3 separate regions of the Homo sapiens genome follow, and all the other regions are linked to region 3. Evidence: promoter capture Hi-C in 16 types of primary human blood cells and fetal thymus (Javierre and others, 2016). All regions are on one chromosome and are shown on one strand. The core of a region is centred on a gene start or on the middle of the fragment in contact, and the rest is flanking DNA. Distances in the headings are between cores, read along the strand shown.

What was found. The method cuts DNA at HindIII sites, captures the fragments that hold promoters and counts their contacts. A CHiCAGO score of 5 or more calls a contact.
Region 1: a fragment that was not itself captured here is called in contact with the fragment with the promoter of ANGPT2 in region 3 in 9 of 17 cell types (naive B cells, total B cells, erythroblasts and 6 more); the score reaches 23.6 in naive B cells.
Region 2: a contact is called between a fragment that was not itself captured here and the fragment with the promoter of ANGPT2 in region 3, in 12 of 17 cell types (activated CD4 T cells, fetal thymus, non-activated CD4 T cells and 9 more). The highest score is 12.4, in activated CD4 T cells.

The regions. Positions count from the first base shown.
Region 1 is chr8:6,702,573-6,706,207 of GRCh38, reverse strand. All of the region lies in intron 1 of MCPH1-AS1 (MCPH1 antisense RNA 1), which reads left to right. Among named protein-coding and RNA genes, the nearest start is that of MCPH1-AS1, 3.8 kb to the left of the region's middle. The HindIII fragment of the contact is 3,107 bases long and covers 1-3,048 here.
Region 2 is chr8:6,389,952-6,393,399 of GRCh38, reverse strand. No RefSeq gene overlaps it. Among named protein-coding and RNA genes, the nearest start is that of MCPH1-DT, 15 kb to the left of the region's middle. RefSeq lists an enhancer at 2,164-3,363. The HindIII fragment of the contact is 1,068 bases long and covers 773-1,840 here.
Region 3 is chr8:6,561,374-6,564,677 of GRCh38, reverse strand. It overlaps ANGPT2 (angiopoietin 2), which reads left to right and starts at 1,433. Exons shown (of 9, transcript NM_001118887.2): 1 at 1,433-2,031. The coding sequence starts at 1,744. The region is part of intron 12 of MCPH1 (microcephalin 1); the gene reads right to left. RefSeq lists enhancers at 1,564-2,090, 2,091-2,616. The HindIII fragment of the contact is 4,979 bases long and covers 1-3,304 here.

The DNA.
Region 1 (3,635 bases), core at 246-2,745, 140 kb before region 3:
AATCACCATATTCTCATGCATAGCACTGGAGTGGGCCACAGTGTTCTTTTTAAAATTTGTTGAGATGCCCCTTGAAAGAATGCTGTGTATTCCCATCACACATTCTTAAACTGATATTTAAATGTTTTTCTCAGCTGGGCATGGTGGCCTATACCTGTAATTCCAGCACTTCAGGAGGCCAAGGAGGAAGGATCACTTAAGCGCTTTGTAGAGTGAGGCCTCCATCTCTACAAATATATTTTTTTAATTAGCTGGGTGTGATTGTGCATGCCTGTAGCCCCAGCTACTCAGGAGGCTGAGTTGGGAGGATTGCTTGAGCCCAGGAGTTCAAAGCTGCTATGAGCCATGATCGCGTCACTGCAATCCAGCCTGGGCAAAAGAGAAAGAGTCCATCTCAAAGAAAAAAAAAGGTGGGGAGAGGGGGGCTTTTAATGATAAATTTAAAAAGGCTTTTAATTATAAATTTAAGTAGTTATGAAGTTCTGATGAGTTATGAATGATGTTTTGAAAATAAAGTGATTACAGAAAATTTTTAAATGTATGCAGTGAGTTATAAATATTATAGTGACTTAATATCCACCCCATCATTCATTTCAAAAATACTTAAGCCTTTGACCAGTTGAAAATTTTGCATTGATTATTTTTCTCCCTGAAAATATTTTTATTTCACTTCTACCACAGGATTCTATCATAATTGAATATGCTCTATCCTTCAAAGTTTTTTACTGATCAGACTGTATCATTAGGGTCCTAAGAAGCAAATTTTCTTCTGGATTGAACTGTTACTATTATTAGCAATACACAGTTTAATCAATGTGTTTCACAAAATCTGATAAGGAATTGTAGGCAAAAAAAAAAAAAAGTTACAAGAAATGCATCTCTTAAATAAGTTATCTCTGTTGGTGTCCTAAGGTTTATTACACCTTTCTACCTCAGCAGGGCAGCACAATGTAGTAAGATTTAGGATGTGCCAGGGGGGAGAGGAGCCATTATGAAATGCCAGGTGGGCCTGGACTGCAGGAGTCCTCAGACAGATCACTTTTAGAAGAGTTGGGATCTGAAAACTGAATCCCTTGAAACTCCTCATGACCACGTGTCCATATTCTCAGGGATACGCATGCCTCCATTTGAAGATTGTTTTTACAGAAATAATTGGGGTAAGGAAAGGAGACAAGGATGCTAGGGATTGAGTCTGGAAAGATAGGCAAGAACCAGATGACAGCAGGGTCTTGGGGGACACATAAGGATTTTAGAATTTATCCCAAAGGACAGGGAAGCTACTGAGATTTTAAGGAGAGGAGTGACATGCTTATATTTGATCTTTTTAAAAGTTGTTCAGGCATTGTGGAGAGTATATTTTAAACAGTTTGGAGACTATAGCTAGACTCCCAGCTAGAAAGGATGATGGTAGCTTAGCCTTTGGTGGTGACCATGTATGGAGAGAAAAACGAATCCCTCATGTACAGTGTTCTTGGAAGGAAATTTGACAGTATGTTCTAAGAATGGACAGCCATATGGTTTGGATCTGTGTCCCCACCCAAATCTCATTATCAGTCTTAACCCCCAATGTTGGAGGTGGGGCCTGGTGCCAGGCGATTGGATCACAGGGGCAGTTTTCTCATGAATAGGTATCACCGTCCCTCTTGGCACTGTCCTCAGGATAGTGAGTGATTCTCGCGAGATCTGGTGGTTGAAAACCACGTAGCACCTCCCCACTCACTCTTGCTCCTGCTCTCCCTTTTCCTTTCACCATGATTGTAAGTTTCCTGAGGCCTCCCCAGAAGCTGAGCAGATGCCAGCACTATGCTTCCTGTACAGCCAGCCAAAATGTGAGCCAATTAAACCACTTTTCTTTATAAATTACCCAGTCTCAGGTATTTCTTTATAGCAATGCAAGAACAGCCTAATACAGACAGATACCCTTTTAATCAGTCCATCTACCTAAGTGCACATCAGTAGCAGAATAGCTTTGTGGATACACAGTACTGATAAGTGAAATGGTATGCAGCAGTTGGACAGGAATAAGTAGCACTAAATGCGTAGTCGTGGACAGATCTCCAGGACACTAGGTGACAAAGCAAGTTGCTGGATAATACATGCACTATGATCCTATTTCTGTAAAAACTAAATAAAACTTTGGTCAGTTCCCATTCATGCTTTTATTTTGCTGTTTGCACAGATAAAACAAGAAGGCATTCCTGTTATAAAAAGTGTAAGCAATCCTATGTTTTGAATATTGAATGAAATGTGGACATTTCCCTCATGCCGCACCCAATCCCACTTTCTTACCCAGAGGTTACAGCTATCTACTTACGCAGTAGATGCTTGGCAATCCTTTGCCCCTTCCCTCCTTGAGGTGACTAAGATGGTCATGCAGACAAGCCACCCCTCCCAACAGAACCCATGTGATCTAGGGGGAAGCTGACCCCACCCATAATGGGCCACCATCAGTCTAGGGCTGTGTTTTTTTGACGTGTGGACCTTGAAGCCTTCAGGCTCCTCAAGATGCTTTCAGCTGGTCCAAGGGAAAAATGTTTTCACAGTGATACTGAGACATCATTTGCCTTTTCACTATTAGATTTACAGTGGTGATGCAAAAGCAGGGGTAGGTAAATCCACTAGCACCTCACTGAGAGTAAGGCAATGACACAGAAAGTTACCTACTAGTGACCATCATGTTCTTCATCACAATGTGATCATGGCAGAAAAACGCTTAAGAATAGCCTGAATGTGATAGCAAAAAAAAAAAAAAAAAAAAAAAGTCAATTTTATTAAATGTCAACTGTGGAGTACACATCTTATGAATACTCCATGTGACTAAATGGAACTTGCATGAAGCACATGGGAAGCATACCAAAGCTCAATAGCTCCCCTGTAGGAAACAACCTCTGAGCTGCAAGCTGAGAGCTACTTTTTTCGTGGAACATCACTTTTGCTTGAAAGAATAACTAGCAGATAAAGTGGTGAGTCTGGCAGACACTTTTTTCAAAAACAAATTCACTTCAAAAGAAAACAGTGGGTAATGTTGCCAACAATAAAATTGAAGCTTTCAAGTGAAAACTTGAATCTTGGAAAACTTATATTGCTCTATGAGCTTGACACCTTCTCAGTTCTTGAAGACCTTTTTCATGAGGACTGTGGTAATAGCAACCATTGTGATTTTTCAATACTGTATGATGCAATGTGTCAGAATTTGGAAGGTTGGCACAATGCAGTAAACCAAACCAATGTTTTTTAAATAATGCATGATATTTTAAAATGATGAATGGGTAAATGGCTCTTGCAAGCACAAGATATACCAATAGGTTTTAATTTAACTACAAAAATTTCATTGATATAATTTCAGACTTTACATGGCTACTAACCTTTAAGCAATTACCAGTTCCTGAGTTTTAGTGTAATATGAAAGAAGAATAGTCACATTATCTGAAAAGGCTTTAAAAATACCCCTTCCAGGCTGGGCACTACAGGTAGCTCATGCCTATAATCGCAGCACTGTGTGAGGCCAAAGTGGGCAGATTGTTTGAACCCAGGAGTTTGAGACCACCTTAGGTAACATGACGAAACCCCATGTTTCACCACAAAAAATACAAAAATTAGCCATGTGTGGTGGTGCATACCCGTAGTCTCATCTA
Region 2 (3,448 bases), core at 57-2,556, 170 kb after region 3:
AAATGGTGAAACCCCATCTCTACTAAAAATAGAAAAATGAGCTGGGCGTGGTGGCGCATGCCTGTAGTCCCGGCTACTTGGGAGTCTGAAGCAGAAGAATCGCCTGAACCTGGGAGGTGGAGGTTGCAGTGAGCTGAGATCGCGCCACCTTCACTGCAGTCTGGTGACAAAGCGAGACTCTGTCTCAAAAAAAAAAAAAAAAAAAAAGTGTGGCTTATAGACAACAGAAATATATTGCTCACAGTCTGGAGGCTGGACGTCCAAGATCAATGTGCTGGCTGATTTGGTGTCTGGTAAAGGTCGCTCTTGACTTCAGAGATGCATCTCCTTGATGTATCTTCATGTGGTGGAAGGAGCTTTGTAGCTCCCTGGGGCCTCCTTTATAAGGGCACTAATCCCACTCATGAGGGTTCATAACCTAATCACCTTCCTAAAGTCCCACCTCCTAGTGCCATCAGTTTGAGAGTTAGGATTTCAATGTATGAGTTTGGGGGCAGGCACAAACATTGAAATCATAGCAACATCTCACCCTATCAATAGAAAGGCAGTTTGCTATCCCATTTAAAAATCATCTCTGTTAATGGTAGGAAGAATTTAGTATAGAAATTCTGATGTCTAGGAAAATACTGTTATCAAATACTATATTAAAAGAAAGGTATTCCATATATAAACTTTGGAAAGCTATTTACTCTGTCCAGAATATAGCCTCAAGTGTAAAGATTCTTTGATTTAGTGCTGTTTTAAGGCAGTTTTAGAGCGGTTGCAAAAAGCTTTGTTAAAAAAATGAAATCTTTAAGACTTGACTAAGCAATAGCATATTGAAAAAGACCTGTCCCTGACACAAGAAAATACTAAATTTAAAGGGTGCTATCATCAAATCCAATCTATTTGTTTCACAGATTCAAGAAATCAGGCTAGCAACTCAGAAAGAGAGCCACTTAAATTAGTTTCCGTTCTAGAACTCGGGCCTCTTGCCATCAGGCCTGATCTGTTCATTTCTCATTTGCTATTCCTTCCATAGATATTTATCGAGCATCTTCTATGCACCAGGAGCCGTCTTAGGCTCCAGATGGTAATGAACCTCTTATCACTTGACTCACTCCCTCTTCATAGGACCAGGACTACCCATCACGAAAGCCTAGGGGCTAAAACTCTCATTATTAAGAACAAAGTGAATTAAAATTAATGAGCTCAAGGAGACCTGATGTTTGCACTAATATGGTCTACTATTTTTTTGTCATAGCATTTCTATTCAAGATTTTTAATCAGATAAATCCATCTAAAAAAAGGATCTCGTAAAGCCTAAAAGAGGGCATCCCTGTTTCTTCATTTTTATTCTTCGCAGAAGGACAAAAGATGAAAGCTATTATTTCTCTACCAACCCTCACCTGCAATAAAAGGGATCTGTACTGGAAAGCCCCTTTAAACACACCCAGGGCAAAGGAAAAGTTGAAAGTATTGACTTTTGTGAAGCCCACACTTCGGCTCAGCAGGCGGAGGCCTTTTCAGAGATTTCTTCCTAACAGCCTGACAACACTTGGACAGGAATCAGGACGCGAACCTCTCTGAAAAGTCCCAGCAAACAAGTCAGATGAAAGGGCCGCACTTCAGAAAGAAAATGCTGGCGCCCTGGAGTCTGAAGTTACCTGCGAATCTTCCCTTCTCCCAGCACAGGGTAAACATTTAGGGCAGCTGTGGATCTGGGTTTCCTAGGAGTTCATGAATTTCAAAGATGAAGCACAGATCATTCAGGTACATTTTCCTTTATGGTATTTCTATAAAACCAAAAAAATTTAAAAGTTGGTGTAGAAAATTGACTATCATTCATTAACAGGAAGCTTTTTCGATTGAAAATACAGTTCTATTGATATTAGAAGCTAAGGTGACTTTTTTCTTGAATAATAATTGCCAAATACCCTTGTCTTTAATGGAAAAAAATTTTTAAAATGCTTTTTACGTTCTACAATGAGATTATTTGACAGGATAGAATAATTAGTATGCTTGCACTCACAAACATGAAATATTTCTAAACATCATGAGTATTTGAACTAAGTGAATGACTGGAAGAGGATGGGAAAGCAGAGGGAATGAAAAACCAAAGAGCCCCAATTATTTGCAAGAAAAATAATGATTTATCTTAGTTTTATGCCTTGGCAATGTTTTTGAGTAATAAAAATGCAACTTTGTGGCTGACTGAAGAATCCAAGATAGTAGAGTTCTTAGGGAATGAACTCAAATATGGCACAGGCAGCAAAACAATGAGAACAGACCTCAGCTGTGTGTGGAGCTGAACCCTGCAGGCCCCCGCTGGGCCCCATGTTAATCCTTCAGTCGCTGGATGCCTGGGAAGCCAGGTGGAAACCAGAAGAAAGGTAGAGATGGGTGGGGCGGCAAATCCTAAGATGGTTCAAGACAGCAGCATCTTCAAGTGACCCAGGAATATTCCAGTATTTTAGCAATAAGCATAGATCTGCCAGTGTGTCCCAGTTTGAATATGGGCCCTGAACAGTGAATTTTTAACACATCTGAGATCATACCACCTATAATTTGGTGCCGTACTTTTTTTTTTTCCAGTTTAACAGTATACTATGAGCATTTTCCCACAATGGTCACTCTCTGTGTTTATTGCTTTGCTTCCAGAAAGAATTGGAGGCAATTTAGCTTTAAATGAGACTAAGAGTGTTGAAGAACAATTGCTTTCGTCCACAGAAAATTCTTCTGAGCAACCTGGTTGATGATGGTGTATTCTCTGTCTCCTGAGGAAGGGACCCTGTCTATTTGGTTCACTGCTGTGTTTGCATATCCTTCCATACACCATGCTGGTGTGTCCAGAATTGGTTCCTTCCAGTGGGTTCTTGGTCTTACTGACTTCAAGAATGAAGCCACGGAACCTCACAATTAGTGTTACAGTTCTTAAAGATGGTGTGTTCGGAGTTTGTTTCTTCAGATGTTCAGATGTGTCTGGAGTTTCTTCCTTCTGGTAGGTTGGTGGTCTTGCTGACTTTAGGAGTGAAGACGCAGACCTTTGCAGTGAGTATTACAGCTCTTAAAGGTGGTGTGTCCAGAGTTCTCCATTCCTCCCAGTGGGTTCTTGGTCTCGCTGACTTCAGGAGTAAAGCTGCAGACCTCTGTGGTGTGTTACAGCTCATAAAGACAGTGCTGATCCAAAGAGTAAAAGAACAAAGCTTCCACAGTGTGGAAGGCAACCCCACTGCATTGCCACTGCTGGCTCCGGTGGCCAGCTTTTATCCCCTTATTTGGCCCCACCCACATCCTGCTGATTGGTCCATTTTACAGAGTGCTAATTGGCCCATTTTACAGAGTGCTGATTGGTCTGTTTTTACAGAGTGTTGATTGGTGTGTTTACACACCTTTAGCTAGACACAGAGCACTGATTGGTGCGTTTACAAACCTTTGGCTAGACACAGAGCGCTGATTGGTGCATTTA
Region 3 (3,304 bases), core at 184-2,683:
AGATCTTTTATGGGTAGATGTGGTCTGTTAAGTCAGTGTACCAGCTATTCAGCGCTCACTGGGAATAATAAACCTTGTACCTTGAGAGATAAACCGCAGCAAAGGCAGGGGGCTTTTTCCCTATGTACACTTGGGCTGCTGAGTTAACATATTATTAATCTCTGAAGTATTAAGTTTTAGTTGTTAAAGGAAGTGACTTGCAGAACTTACAGAGCCATAGGATTGAAGGTGAAAAATCTTGTGAGTGCACCCCTTGAATTGCACAGATGAGGACATTAGAGCTTAATTAAAACAGGGAAGTGACTTGCCCGAGTCTAATACCAAGGGGGACTAATGTAATTGATAATGTGTTACAAAATGCTGAGATGTCAACAAATTCTGACACAATAAAGAAGTTTGTGGGCCAGGCATGGTGACTCACACCTGTAATCTCAGCACTTTGGGAGGCCAAAGGCGAGTCGATCACAAGGTCATGAGTTTGAGACCAGCCTAACATGGTGAAACCCTGTCTCTACTAAAAATACAAAAATTAGCCGGGTGTGGTGGCGTTTGCCTGTAATCCCAGCTGCTCAGGAGCCTGAGGCAAGAGAATCACTTGAACCCGGAAGGCGGAGGTTGCAGTGAGCCAACATTGCCCCACTGCACTCTAGCCTGGTCGACAGAGCGAGACTCCGTCTCAAAAAAAAAAAAAAAAAAAAAAAGTTTGTATTCCTCTTTCTACACAGGCACTTAAATTCTAATTTCTCTATTGTAATGTAATGAACTTAATCAGTACAGTGTATTTTTAGAGTGAATATCCAAGTGGAGTTTTTTTAAAGAATAAAGGTCAGAGCTCAGAAACTGATGTTTCTAACGTGACTTAATAACAGATCTTTCTATCCAACTGTTCGGAAATGAAAATCTTTTGTAACTTGGCTAGTGGTTCAAGAATCAACTAAAATCAATGAATCTATTTTTCCCTCTGAAAAGGCACACGTTTACAGGAGCCAAACTTCTTCCTCTTTATTTGTAATAACAAAAATAAACCGAAGTCCTGACCTATTTGTAATATTTTTATTCCTAAAGGAAAAAACAGGAACTTTCATTGTACTTCAACATTAAAGTTATTACCTCAGATATTTTGCCAGCTTAGCACGGCAAAAATCAGTTTCAGACAAAAGAGATCAACTGCTCTCTCTAGGAAATACTTAATTGGGGTGGTGCCTAGGAAATGCCCAGGGGTCCTGTAACAGATCGGTTTTTCCCAGAGGGTTTCTGCAGCATGGGTCCTGGTTGGAGGGCAGGCATTCTGCTCTGATTTTTCCTGTTGCCTGGCTAGTGACCCCCTACAGGAAGATAACGGCTAAGCCAGGAGGGCGGAGCAGCCCACTACACATGTCTGGCTGCTCTTATCAACTTATCATATAAGGAAAGGAAAGTGATTGATTCGGATACTGACACTGTAGGATCTGGGGAGAGAGGAACAAAGGACCGTGAAAGCTGCTCTGTAAAAGCTGACACAGCCCTCCCAAGTGAGCAGGACTGTTCTTCCCACTGCAATCTGACAGTTTACTGCATGCCTGGAGAGAACACAGCAGTAAAAACCAGGTTTGCTACTGGAAAAAGAGGAAAGAGAAGACTTTCATTGACGGACCCAGCCATGGCAGCGTAGCAGCCCTGCGTTTTAGACGGCAGCAGCTCGGGACTCTGGACGTGTGTTTGCCCTCAAGTTTGCTAAGCTGCTGGTTTATTACTGAAGAAAGAATGTGGCAGATTGTTTTCTTTACTCTGAGCTGTGATCTTGTCTTGGCCGCAGCCTATAACAACTTTCGGAAGAGCATGGACAGCATAGGAAAGAAGCAATATCAGGTCCAGCATGGGTCCTGCAGCTACACTTTCCTCCTGCCAGAGATGGACAACTGCCGCTCTTCCTCCAGCCCCTACGTGTCCAATGCTGTGCAGAGGGACGCGCCGCTCGAATACGATGACTCGGTGCAGAGGCTGCAAGTGCTGGAGAACATCATGGAAAACAACACTCAGTGGCTAATGAAGGTAGGAAAAAAATCCATCTGTCTTTGTGAACATGCTATTAAGATCAGCTTGGCAGCAGCTCAGGTTTTAACAACCAAAAAAAAAAAAAAAAAAAGAAGGAGGATGAAGAGGATTAGAGCTGGAGAGCGGGTTGCTGGTACCCTCAAATGAAAGATAATTTCTTTTATTCTATCCCAGGGTGTGTGGGTAGTCCCCGGGGTGAAAATAATTATTTGGAAAGAATGCCAGAGTCAATACAGAAAATCTCTAAAGTTAGAAATCTTTATTAACAAGGTAGAGGAAATATACTTCCCTGCACAACTTGTGTGCCGTTCTGTTTGTTTACATCGTTTAAGCTCAGTAACACCCATCACCAGGGAGGCTCTCAGCTGGTTGCAGGCAAGTGAGGGAAGGCTGTGAGCCGCAGCAGCCCGTGAGCCAGAGAGACCGTGACAACCATGCTGATGACCGAGGCATAACGGATGGAGTAAAGTGCTTTACCAATTTCCTGAATTTATTTACTAAAATAGGTTGTGACTCTTGGTAAACGAGAGGAAATTAAATAAAGCAGACCTTATGTTTCTCAGAATCTCAGGGCCCTACCACTAAGGGCTTGCCGTCTGTAAACAGGGGCACAGTTCCCAAGCGTCCCAGAGGTATTCAGCACTGCAGCCCCCGTCAGTTCCAGCAACCGGTGCGGAATGCGTCCCCACGTGGGACGGTTATGTTCAAGTCATGCCACGACAGGACGGTCTGTCTGACAGTTTGTTCTTGGGGTGATTCCACTGTTTCACAGATGATCCCACTGTTTCCTAGAGTTTTTATGGAGACGTAACCAAAATAGGATATTGAAAGCTCTGTTTTTCTTTCATAAATAATTTTTTTTCACATGTAAACATGGGAGCTATTTATACAAAATCCAAAACGAACCTGGAATTTTCTTTATATGGACTATATATATTCTAAAGGAAGTTTAAACAAAATGCATAAATTAATTGTTAAGTAGCATGATGATGCCATTACATCACAATGCTTACATGGCAGGGAATGTGATTATCTAAAGCTATGTAAAGTCTTTTAAAAGTTGGTGAGCCTCATTTGACGCATGACCCTAGAAAAAGCACAATTATTTTCTCACTCTTTCATTTCACCATAAACCTTTTGTTAGGACACCTTATCTGAATCTCAGAACGGATCTTGGAGCCTAATCGGTGCTCCTCATTACCTCCCCTACCTTCAGAGAGGAAACGACTAAGTTATTATTTGAGTCATGAGCTTAAATGAATGAATGTGA